Regions from separate parts of the Homo sapiens genome. Here regions 1, 2 and 3 are each linked to region 4. The links are contacts of gene promoters, found by promoter capture Hi-C in blood cells and fetal thymus (Javierre and others, 2016). All regions are on one chromosome and are shown on one strand. Each heading gives the region's core, a stretch centred on a gene start or on the middle of the fragment in contact. The rest is flanking DNA. Distances are from core to core; before and after follow the strand shown.

Evidence for each region. Contacts are between HindIII fragments. The CHiCAGO score rates a contact against its expected background, and 5 or more counts as called.
Region 1: a contact is called between a fragment that was not itself captured here and the fragment with the promoter of PIGK in region 4, in 1 of 17 cell types (naive CD4 T cells). The highest score is 5.0, in naive CD4 T cells.
Region 2: a contact is called between a fragment that was not itself captured here and the fragment with the promoter of PIGK in region 4, in 2 of 17 cell types (non-activated CD4 T cells and monocytes). The highest score is 6.5, in non-activated CD4 T cells.
Region 3: a contact is called between a fragment that was not itself captured here and the fragment with the promoter of PIGK in region 4, in 1 of 17 cell types (naive CD4 T cells). The highest score is 6.5, in naive CD4 T cells.

The regions. Positions count from the first base shown.
Region 1 is chr1:77,575,869-77,578,685 of GRCh38, forward strand. ZZZ3 (zinc finger ZZ-type containing 3) reads right to left here. Exons shown (of 15, transcript NM_015534.6): 12 at 200-352. Among named protein-coding and RNA genes, the nearest start is that of ZZZ3, 110 kb to the right of the region's middle. The HindIII fragment of the contact is 612 bases long and covers 1,019-1,630 here.
Region 2 is chr1:77,505,937-77,508,837 of GRCh38, forward strand. The region is part of intron 10 of AK5 (adenylate kinase 5); the gene reads left to right. Among named protein-coding and RNA genes, the nearest start is that of ZZZ3, 180 kb to the right of the region's middle. The HindIII fragment of the contact is 4,094 bases long and covers 1-2,901 here.
Region 3 is chr1:77,488,551-77,491,523 of GRCh38, forward strand. The region is part of intron 10 of AK5 (adenylate kinase 5); the gene reads left to right. Among named protein-coding and RNA genes, the nearest start is that of ZZZ3, 190 kb to the right of the region's middle. The HindIII fragment of the contact is 1,945 bases long and covers 429-2,373 here.
Region 4 is chr1:77,217,732-77,220,718 of GRCh38, forward strand. It overlaps PIGK (phosphatidylinositol glycan anchor biosynthesis class K), which reads right to left and starts at 1,699. Exons shown (of 11, transcript NM_005482.3): 1 at 1,579-1,699. The coding sequence starts at 1,671. LOC105378808 (a long non-coding RNA gene) reads left to right here and starts at 1,789. Exons shown (of 3, transcript XR_001738109.2): 1 at 1,789-1,922. RefSeq lists an enhancer at 1,383-1,492. The HindIII fragment of the contact is 2,966 bases long and covers 1-2,627 here.

The DNA of each region.
Region 1 (2,817 bases), core at 75-2,574, 360 kb after region 4:
GATAATTGTTAAGGTTCATTATACTATTCTATTTTTGTATATGTTTGAAATTTTCCTCACAAAAGTACATTACTTAAAAACTATACATTTGACTTGTTCATTAAAAGAAACCAACATTCTCTGAAGAGTGGAAATAATTAGAAAATCCTACTCTCTTCTATACCTTGATGTATATAACAACTTGATGTGTATAACTTACTGATGCATCTTCAACAGCAGTGTTCATGTGGCTATGAAAACAAGATCGGTCATCATCTTCATCCATATACACTGGCGGTTCATGTGAAGTCATGAAAGTGGAAGGCTTAAAGAGATGCTTATTAAGAGGGTGCTGTCGTCTGCTTGTTGAAGACTAAGTAAGAAAACAAATTTTTAATTGGTTCAGTGAAAAATCATTACAAGAATCAAAAATATAAAAATACAAATGTTACTTCCAACAAGTCTATCAGAAGAATTTCACTCTATCCTTTAGCATACTCTTATGTTGTTGCTTTTTCTGTTTTCTGCGTTTTTAAAGCATAACTAGCTTTAAAAAATTTTTTTTAAATGTAGGGGAAATACCCCAACAACGGTAAAATGGACCACATGTTTAATATCTAGCTTATATTTGTATCCCCAGCATTTATCATACTCTTGGCAGTCAAATGCTGGCTGCACTGAATTCTTATGATCATCTTATAGAAGATCAGACAGGATGAAGTGGCCTATGCCAGACATAAAACTATCCAGTAAAAAGTAAAAGGAAAATTTCTATAACATTATGAATATCTGAAAATACTTATCTAACATTGATTGACTGCTTATTCTATGCCAGGGTTGTCCAATCTTTGGCTTCCCCGGGCTACATTGGAAGAATTGTCTTGGGCCACACATAAAATACACTCACACTAAAAAAAAAAACAAAAAAACAACAAAAAAAAAATTTCTTGTAATGTTTTAAGAAAGTTTACCAATTTGTGTTGGGCCACATTCAAAGCTGTCGTGGGCCACATGTGGTACGTGGGTCATGGGTTGGACAAGCTTGCTCTATGCCAATGTCATTTAATCCTTACAACATTCCTATAACGTAGTTATCATCACCTCTAATTTAAAAATGAGAAAACTGAGGACAGGGAGGTTAAGTTTCTTGTTCAGTGTGTTGCAGCTAGATAGTGGTAGAACCAGGATTATAAACTAGGCCTATGTGGTGCCCAAATTCTCACTTTCCACCACTATGCAGCCTGCCTGTCTTGATCAATAGCACAGTCACAAAGAACACCCTCAGCTACATGAAGAACCATCATTTCACCTGTTTCCAAATTTAAACTCTAACAATGGCAAGCAATCATTGTAAATATAGCTGTACTAGATCTTCACAGCCAAAATACAGTACACCTAAGGGAAAAAAACACATGTACGTTCTCCAGTATTCCTTTTGTTATCATTATCCAGTGTTAATGATGAAAACATGGTTACATCTATAAAATTAGCTTAGAAATTAACCATGAAAATAAGAGCTCTTACATTAAACACAGGTTAATGTAAGGTTCCAATATTCCACAGTTATAGGATGAACTCTACAAATCTACACAGGTTGTGCTATATTTGGTGGGAAACCCAAAATATTTAAAACAATTGGCAAATTAAAACAAGCTTCCAAAGCTCGGTTAAAAAAAATTTTTTTTTAATGTGTAAAACATGAAACTGTATAGACAATATTCTTAATGTAAAATTACATGAAATAGCTTCAGTATGGAAGGATAACAGCACTAGATATACTCTTAGCTTCTCTTTATGAGAAAGATGTCAGTGGTGGGGAGGGAAAAGTAACAGGATAACTTATTAAGAAAATTTAAAACAGCCAATTAGGTGTCTTTATTTTTTGCGATTACAAGAACGAACAGCTGGGACTGCAGGTGCGTGCCACCACACCCGGCTAATTTTTGTATTCTTAGTAGAGACGGGGTTTCACCATATTGGCCAGGCTGGTCTTGAACTCCTGACCTCGTGATCCACCCGCCTCGGCCTCCCAAAGTGCTGGGATTACAGGCGTGAGCCACCGTGCCCGGCCGAAACTGGCTACATTTTAATGTAGTGTCCTGTTTGGGAAAGAAACAGTAGCTTCTCCACTGTAGAAAGCAACAGAGAAAAGTGGAAAAAGTGTGGCATCAGAATGGGAGAGAATCAGTGGTTCCCAGACTTAGCAGCTAAGCAACTAGATAATTCACTCAACATACCTGAGGGCCCAGTTTCCTTACCAAATAAAAGGTTATAGAACAGTAGAGTCTGGCTCAGAGCCCTCAATATAACAGCTAGCTATTAATATTATGTCAGTAAAGTGAAGATGATAAGACTACTTATATTTCAAGAATTGTAGAAAGGATTAAATACAATATTTTATTTTTTTAAAGATACGGGACCTCACTATGTTGCCTAAGTTGGACTCAAACTCCTGGCCTCAAGTGTTCCTCGTGCCTCAGCCTCCCAAGTAGCTGGGACAACAGGTGCACACCACTGTGCCTGGCTTTAGAATATCATAATAAACCTTTCTATTCTTGGATTTATGTAGCATTATCTACAAAACAGAAATTGATCTATTAAATTTATTAAATGATTGATTTATTAAATAATCAAATATCCTAAAAACTTTACCCTCACAAAGGCCTTTCTAACATATTTTGAATCTAAAATCTTTCAAGTAGCACTCATTCACATTACTCCAAAGAAAATAATGAAGAATCATGAATTTCACTGAGCAGCAATAATGGAGTCCTTACCCTCCACTTTTGCACAATATAAGGAAATGCTTAGAATGAACAGAAGTTTTAAAATACAACA
Region 2 (2,901 bases), core at 186-2,685, 290 kb after region 4:
AATTTGTAATTTCCTATTCTATACACTTAATATATGCCTAAGACCTAGTACAAAGTAGGCTACAAAGTAGGAAAAATGGTGTGTTTAAAAATCTGGAAGAGGCAGGGCACTCTAGAACAATGAATTCCAAGAATTCAGAAACCCAGGCAAGCAGAACCTGAGTGAAGTGACTTTTGAAAAGCAGCTCTGGTCTGTCAATTTGGAAAAATAAATGTGCTTGATGAGCTGGGTCTGGAACAGGCGCTGGAGACCTCTGGGTGAAGAAACAAAGGATCGGTGTTTGGTTGGTTGGTTGGTTGGTTGGTTGGTTGGTTGGTTGTTTTTTTTCATTTTTTGGGGTTTTTTTAATTTTTTAATTTTTCTGTAGATTCATATTCAGCTGAAAGGACAAGTGATTTAATGGTGTTTTCTTATGAGCAGTTTGGAAATCTTGTCTGTGTCTCTGTTCAGAGATGGGGGTAGGGTGAAGATGGGGTTAGGGTGCTGTGAGCTGTAGGAGGTCACCAGCTTCATGGGGTAAAAACATTTCAGAACCACCACCAACAGGCACCAGGAAAGGTATCTGCCCTTTCCTGTCACCTGAGACCTGAACCTTCCTCATTTTCTGTCCATGTAAGAGCTGGAGTCATGGCATTTGGTTTCAGAGTCTTGATTAATGAGGGATTTCACATCTCGCTGTGGCTATGGTGGGTGTTGGCTGAATGAATTGTAAAATCATAGAGTGTTAGTTAGAACATAGATGAAATCACATCCCTAAAGTCTACTATTCATTGTTAATGGGGCCGGGCACGGTGGCTCACACCTGTAATCCTAGCATTCTGGGAGGCTGAAGCGGGCAGATCACTTGAGGCCAGGAGTTCGAAACCAGCCTGGCCAAGATGGCGAAACCCCATCCCTACTAAAAATACAAAAATTAGTTGGGCGTGGTGGCACAAGCCTGTAATCCCAGCTATTCTGGATGCTGAGTCAGGAGAATCGCTTGAAGCCAGAAGGCAGAGGCTGCAGTGAGCCAAGATCACACCACTGCACTCCAGCCTGGGTAAGAGGTTGAGACTCAGTCTCAAAAAAAAAAACCACATAGTTAATAAATAATGGGGCCTGATAAGGTTGCCAGATTTAACAAATGAAAATACAAGAGCCATAGTTAGATTTGAATTTTAGATAAACAGTGACATGGCCTTTAGTCTAAGTCTCATGCAGGATTTGACTGGGTGTCCTGTATTTTATCTGGCCACCTGACGGGGCCATGATGAAAGCCCAGCTCCCAGTGACCATTCCAGTCAACTGCAGGCTGTGCAGTGCATTTCCCAAAGGAGGTCTGTCTGATTTCCAGAAAGACAGGCCAGAAGTGCCCCACATATGAGAGGCTGTAGAGTTTAATGGTACCAGGACACAGTTGGCCCTTGGCATGGTTTCTTCATCTTGTTATAGGATTACAAACAGCACCTGTTTCAAATAGCTGTTGTAAGAATTAAATAATTACAAGTAGAACACATAAAACAGATATTTATTAGATAAAATATCAAGCCAAAAGTATTGTGACTTTTATCTGAGTAGTCTGCAATGACTTCTCAAACATATTTGGTCTCTCAACTATACCACTGGTGTGAAATAGGCCACAGTTCCCCTACTATTCTCTCCAGCTTTATGCTGAGAAAACCAAAAATTCCTCTCATCTGCAAGAGAGAGGTATGGCCCTGATTTTGATAAGGCAATAAGGATTTTTATTAACCATCATAATAATTATTCATTCATGATAGAACCATTATCTTAGCATTATTACGTTGTAAATATAAAAAGAAAAATCAACAAAGACTTCCTGCAGTGACATTGGAGAGTTCACAGCAAATTGCCTTCCTTAGATTATCTAATCTAGAAGTTCCAAATCAGGCTAACCATCAGAATCACCTGGGGAATTATCCTTTTTTATTATGAAAATATTTCAAACATACAGCAAGCTGAAAGAATATTACAGTGAACACTTGTATACCCACCACCTAGTCTTCAATCAACATCTTACTACAAGCTGAGTATCCCTACTCCAAAAATCCAAAATCCAAAATGTTCCAAAGTCCTAATCTTTTTGCATGCCAACGTAACGCTCAAAGGAACTGCTCATTGGAGCATTTGGGATTTTGAATTTTAGGATTTGGGATGCTCAACTAGTAAGTATAATGCAAGTATCCCAAAATAAAAAAAAATTAAAATATAAAACACTTCTGATCCCAAGCATTTCAGATAAGGAGTGCTCCAACCTGTATATCTTGTCTTGTTATTTATCTGTCCCTCTATTCATCCATCAGTACATCTCTTTTTCCTGTCCACTTCCAAGTAAATTGCAGATGTCTGTACACTTTCCCTGGGGAATTTTCTAAAACTATAAGTTCCCAAGCCTCAGCCCAGAGATGTACAGATCTGCTAATTCAGGAATTTTTCCAAACAACTCCCCAGCTTCACTCTGGTAACCATGCTGATGGAGCCCTTATTAGCCGAAACATTACCAGTCTCATGGCAAAGGGAAAAGACCTGGCATACCATGTGCTGGGCGTAAAAACCTCTGCTCCAAACCAGTACACATCCACCTCTGCCCACATTTCATTGACCAAAACAAGTCCCTTGGAACTCTTAACTTCAAGAAGTTTGGGGCAGGCTGGGCACGGTGGCTCTCACCTGTAATACCAGCACTTTGGGAGGCTGAGGTGGGTGGATCACCTGAGGTCAGGAGTTCGAGACCAGCCTGGCCAACGTGGCAAAACCCCGTCTCTACTAAAAATACGAAAAACAGCCAGGTGTGGTGGTGGGTGCCTGTAATCCCAGCTACTCGAGAGGCTGAGGCAGGAGAATCACTTGAACCCTGGTGGCGGAGGTTGCAGTGAACCAAGATCATGCCATTGCACTCCA
Region 3 (2,973 bases), core at 151-2,650, 270 kb after region 4:
ATATAGGAATTTATTAAGTATTAACTTACGTGATCACAAGGTCCCACAACAGGCTGTCTGCAAGCTCAGGAGCAAGGAGAGCCAGTCCGAGTCGCAAAACTGAAGAACTTGGAGTTTGAGGGTAGGAAGCATCCAGCATGGGGGAAACATGCAGGCTGAGAGGGTAGGCCAGTCTCTCCTTTTCACATGTTTCTGCCTGCTTTATATTTGCTGGCAGCTGATTAGATTGTGCCCACCAGATTAAGAGTGGATCTGCCTTCCTCAGACCACTGACTCAAATGTTAATCCCTTTTGGCAACAGCCTCACAGACACACCCAGGATCAATACTTTGTATCCTTCAATCCAATCAAGTCCACTCAGTATTAACCATCACAGAGCCCTTTATTATCACATAGAAATCTGTGTTTTTAATAATGTGGTCCAAAGAAGCTTCCAAAAATAATACAGTATGTTTTGTGGTGGTTGTTACTGTCTTGGCAGTAATATTACTTCAGATTTATCCATTGTTTAACACTCACAGTTGAACTGTGAAATGCGTTGTCAAATGCCACTTCCTTCTCTCTAGGCATAACTAAAGACCTCACCTGTTACTAAGTCCTGTGCCCTTCAAAAGGTCAAACAGCACAGTAGAAGATCTTTGGAATTAGACAAAGCTCGAAACCTCCAAGGGTCCACAGACCACCCTCTAAGAATTGCTGCACTGAGCAAAAGATTTTTCTTCTATCTAACAAAACTCTCCTGTATTTCAATTTACTGATCAGTCACTCTTCTAGTAAAAGAGATTTCAGCTTGCTGTTTGGGCCATAGAAGGTACAAAGCCACTGTGATACAAGGGAAAACGACTGCTCTTCTTCTACTGTACATACTGAACTCTGAGAATTAAGGCCTTAGTTCTAAATATGTCCTTGACAGGTGGCAGAATGGTATTTTGGGACTGCTTTATTGTAAGTCAATTTAACCTTATGAAAATATTCCAGATGTCATAGACACACCCATAGCTGTTTTGATGAGTTCACTTTCAGTGAAACAGAGTGGTTTTGTCTATTTGAGAAGATGACTGGATTGTCACTTTTCAAATTATTGTCTTGGCATATACCCGAAAAACATTGGGGCTGCAGTATTAGCCAGAGTCTAGGTTGACATCCTCACTATTCGCCTTAAGACAAAATTAATATGCCTAAAGCATTCTTCCCCTGTTTTAACATATCCATTAGATCCTTTTTGTCCACAGAAAGGTCCAGACTTCTTAGACTGGCCTTCTGGTCTTTCCCATTTCCCGCCACACTCCCATGTCAATCTTTGGCTCCAGCCACACCTGCATCCTTATTATCGCTTGAGCTTGTCGCACTTTGCCAGCCCTTTCACTTGAAATGTCTTCTCCCCTATTAATCATGCCCCAAGGTCAGGGTTAAGTTCTAGCTCCCTGAGAACTCCGCTGTAATCACCATCCTTCCTCCTCTGCGCTCCTCCTCCCTTGTGTCTACATCATTCATTTGGGTACTACTTAATGACTAGAACAACAAATATTTGTTGGAATAATGAATTCTTTAAGAAGCAGTGTGGTCTGTTTCCATAACAACCAAAATTGCAATTGGAATTCCTGGCCTAGAACTGACAAGCAGCTTGTTGCTGCTGTGGCTGTTTCTTGCAGGATGGTTTTCATGTTAATTAGGAGCCTAATCAGATGCTCCTTTCTCCATGAAGCTGCTACCCTCTCACTGAGAGCAAGCAAAAGCAACTTTTCCCCTGAGCTGGTGCTGTTTCTTGCTCATTTGCAGGGCAGTAGTCACAGGTGGGAGCAGGTGATAGCCCTGATGGTCATCTGAGTGGAAAAAATGTTCAGGGCAAGTGTACCATCTGCACCAAAGGGGAAGGTGGCAAGGACGGACCCAGTCCACCCTTTGAATAATGTGTGACTATATATTCTTGTTCCCGAAGAAAGCAGCTCAGTAGCTGTTTATAAAGAAATACTTTTCAAAAAACAAAGAAGGGATTCCCACAGGGTAGGACCAGATGATCCAAAGGATTGAAAAAGATTCTATGGACTTCAGTTGTTCACATACAAGATATAAGAACCTGCACTGATATACAAGACAGGAGCTCAATCACTTCTGAAAACTGAAAATTATTTGGAAAATGTAAAAATAGCCTTTAAAGGGCCTCATTATGTCCCACTAACAGGTTCCTACAGTTTTTCACAACCTTTTCTGGTACATTTCTTTCCTTTTTTCTTTTTTTTTTTTTTTAAATCTCTTGATCATTATTTTGCTATGAGCCCATTTATTCTGGCGTCTTTTTCCCTTCTCCATTTTTCATTGCCTGCCTATGCCCAAAATGTGACATAATCTAAATTCCTACTAATTTATATCCAAAGCTTGGGTAGAAGTGCTCCAATTTGGGAAACACATCTGACTTTTCAGGTGAGGTATGGTATTAACAACATAATGATCAAGACATCATTCAAAGGCCATAGCTTTCAATGTGTCTGGGACACACGTGGCCTGGTGTACATTGGCATTGATGCTGTGATAAACTGTTTTTAAGTAGTGAACTTTGGGAGGTATTTTGGCAATATTTTATGTTAATTTGTGCATTTTTAACCACTACAAAAATAGTCCTATCTATTTTCCTAAGGAAAACTGGAGTAATAAGAATTTTTGCTTAAAACTCAATATTGCAATGCCTGGCACTATTTCATTATAGCCATGTTGCCATTTCATTATTGCCTTATTATTAAAAAAACATGAATTGAATTTTTTTTTTTTTTTTTTTTGAGATGGAGTTTTGCTCTTTCTCCCAGGCTGGAGTGCAGTGGTGCTATCTCGGCTCACTGCAACCTCCGCCTTCTGTTTTCAAGTGATTCTCCTGCCTCAGCCTCCCGAGTAGCTGGGATTACAGGCGCCTGCCATGGCGCCCGGCTAATTTTTGTGTTTTTCGTAGAGACGGGGTTTCACCATGTTGGCCAGGCTGGT
Region 4 (2,987 bases), core at 449-2,948:
ATAGTAAATGAGTGCTGTATCAAGTGTACAAATTACAAGAGTAAAGGCAAAGGTAAGAGATAGGGAAACGTTCTACAGAGGTTATGCCTTTACTGTATCTTAGCACATGAACAGAGGAAACACAATGTATAAAATATTGTAATGTGAAAAAGCACAGCAATTATGTAACTACAAAAAACAGTAATAGTATCCAAGATGAAGCAGTCAAAGTTAGAATAAAGGAGGGAAACAGAACTTCTATTTACTCATATTTATGTTCTCTAAAAATTATGCTATATAAACATCAAATATATAAATTAACAGTAATTCATAAATATATATGAAGTTCATGCTCAATATCTTTTTTTAACTGATAGGGTGTGTATTCAAAAAGTTTGGAGTCCACTGGTCTAAGCTCAAGGTGCCCAGGTGGTGGGGAGAAGAGGTTCCAATATGGAACACTGGAAAAGTAGGCAAGCACCAGGTCATAACGTTTAGACTTTATTCTGTATGCAATTAATAAATATTTAAAAGATTTCATCAGAAGAATAACCTGATCAGGCTTACATTTCGTGTAGACGAATCTAGCACCAAACTCAGGGAGTATGGAGGCCTATGGAAAACAAGATAAAGTAATCGCAAGAGTCTAGACAAGAAGTGATCACAGCCTGAATTAAGTCAGTGGAACTGGAGAGGTGAGGGCAATTTTAAGAACTCAGATCACAAAATTTAGTGATAATTAGAATATGGGATAAAGAGATTAAGACTCTCAGGTTTCTAGCTTAGGAGCAGCACATCTGGTTGAGAAATGGAGGAGAAAAGGGGTGCTTAGTTTTTCAGTGTCTTTTTAAGAGGAGGTAGGATAAGCAGAAGATAAAACTTTGCACACGGATTTTCAAATGTCTCCTGACTATCCCGGATTCTTAGTCAGCTGGATATGCAGGCCTGAAAAAGATACCAGACATCTAGATTGTAGACCGGGACTGAGGAATCATCAGAGTATGGTGAATAGTAAAAGCATTATAGAGCACCAGAACATCCTGTGTCCACGTTTAAAAATGGGAAGCTGGAGGAGCCCAGGATAAAACTAAGCACCCCTTTTCTCTTCCATTTCTTAACCCAGACGTGTTGCCCCTAAGCCAGAAACTTGAGAGTTTTAATAAACACTTATATTTATCCCATGTTCTAATTATCACTAAATTCTATTATCTGGATTCTTAAAATTGCCCTCATCTCTCCAGTTCCGTCTGACTCCTATCAAAACAGAGGGCTGCAGTTGAGTAGTAGGAAAGCAGTTGCTGCACACTGACATTTCACGAGCCTCTTGCTCGTATTTCACCTAAGAACTGCACACATGTAGGAGCAAAGGATCAGGTCCTCCTCTGTCTCCGAGGGTTTGATTATTTCAATTCATCGTTTTAAAACGCTGAAACAGACCAACAGTGTCCTAACCCGTGCCCAGTGATACCCTCCTCAAACCCAGCCTGGGTCAGGGGCTGATTGACTCCAGGAGGCGTCCCTCAGCTACTGTGTATCGGACATCTGCTGGAGGGCTCACAGCCGGCCTCCCGGCTGTGGTCAAATGAGCCTGACTCCTACCTCGATATGACTAGCGGCCACGCTGCCGAAGGACAAGAGCAACACAGTTGCCAAGACAGTCGCAGCCCGGCTGAGGCTGTCGGTGACGGCCATGTTTACCGGCTTCAGACTTCCCGCACCTGAAGGGGCGGAGGCAGTGCCGTAAAGTAGCGCTGCGGGTTTTTGCGACACCATCCGCGCCTCTTCGAGGTGGCCCTCTGGTCCGGCTTTAGAACTCTGCGGTTTTGTGGAGCTCGAGAGTCCGGGACAAGGTAGACGCAGGATATTGACCTTTTTATTTTTAACTGCATTTTCAGTTTGGAGGTTGTAAAATAGGTATAACATTTAAGAAAAAAAATTGAAAGGTGAGTGGAGGGAAAACCCGTAACTCCTTAAACTTTAAAAACTTATTTCTCTGTTCCCTTATTTATTTTATTTATTTATTTATTTATTTATTTATTTATTTTGCCGAGTGCTGCCAATTCTTTGAAAATATGAAGCTGGATGTGGTGGGAAGAACAAGCGTTTTGGCACAAAAAGATGATTAATTGGATAAACTATAAATGGAAAATGTGGGTGGGCGCTGCAATTTAGAGGCTTGGGGTCTACTACCTGGTGAAAGGATTAACATGGGAAGCTAGTTACGTTTTTGTTTCTTGAGTATCTTCTGTAATTATGGAACTAAAGCCTATCTGGAAGAGACACAGCTGGTGTATATGTATGGTCCACCATTCTCTTTATTATGTGAGTTCAGTTTTAATTTATGCATTTCATCTAGTATGACATAAACGTTTCCACGCTGCTTCCTCACAATTTTAACATTTAATGGTGAGATAAAATTCCATCCATTATTGATGCCTCAGCCAAAGTAATTGTCCCTCTGCTGCACAATGCAAAGTTTTTAAGTTTTACTATGAAAATAATATTGTAAAGAGTATCTTTTGTGTGTTTGGCTTTTTAAATCTGTTGAATTATTTTGTTTGTATAATTTTCCTGAACTAGGAATTTGGGGTCAAAATATTCCAAAACATTTTAATAACTATAAATGATGTTGCTTTCCAAAATGAACAAGCTTACAGCACTATCAGAATACACAACACCAAACCATACCATTTTTTTTCCTTTAAATTCTTTGGTATGAAATGTTACCCCTAGGTAACTATACTTATAATTCTTTGGTTACTATCAAGATCTGATGTCTTTCTTGTGTTTCTAAACTATCTCTGTGTCCTCTGATGTAAATTCTTTGTTTATATATTTATGTTTTGCATATGAATTTGAATAATATATTTATAAATAAGTAACATTAGCCTTTGCCATATTTTATGCTATTGCTTTTCCCATTCTCTTGTCTCTCTTTTCCTTTTATTTGTTTCTTTTGCTATTGCACTTTGTGAGAGGTTTCATGCTATTTAGTCAAATTTAGGTTT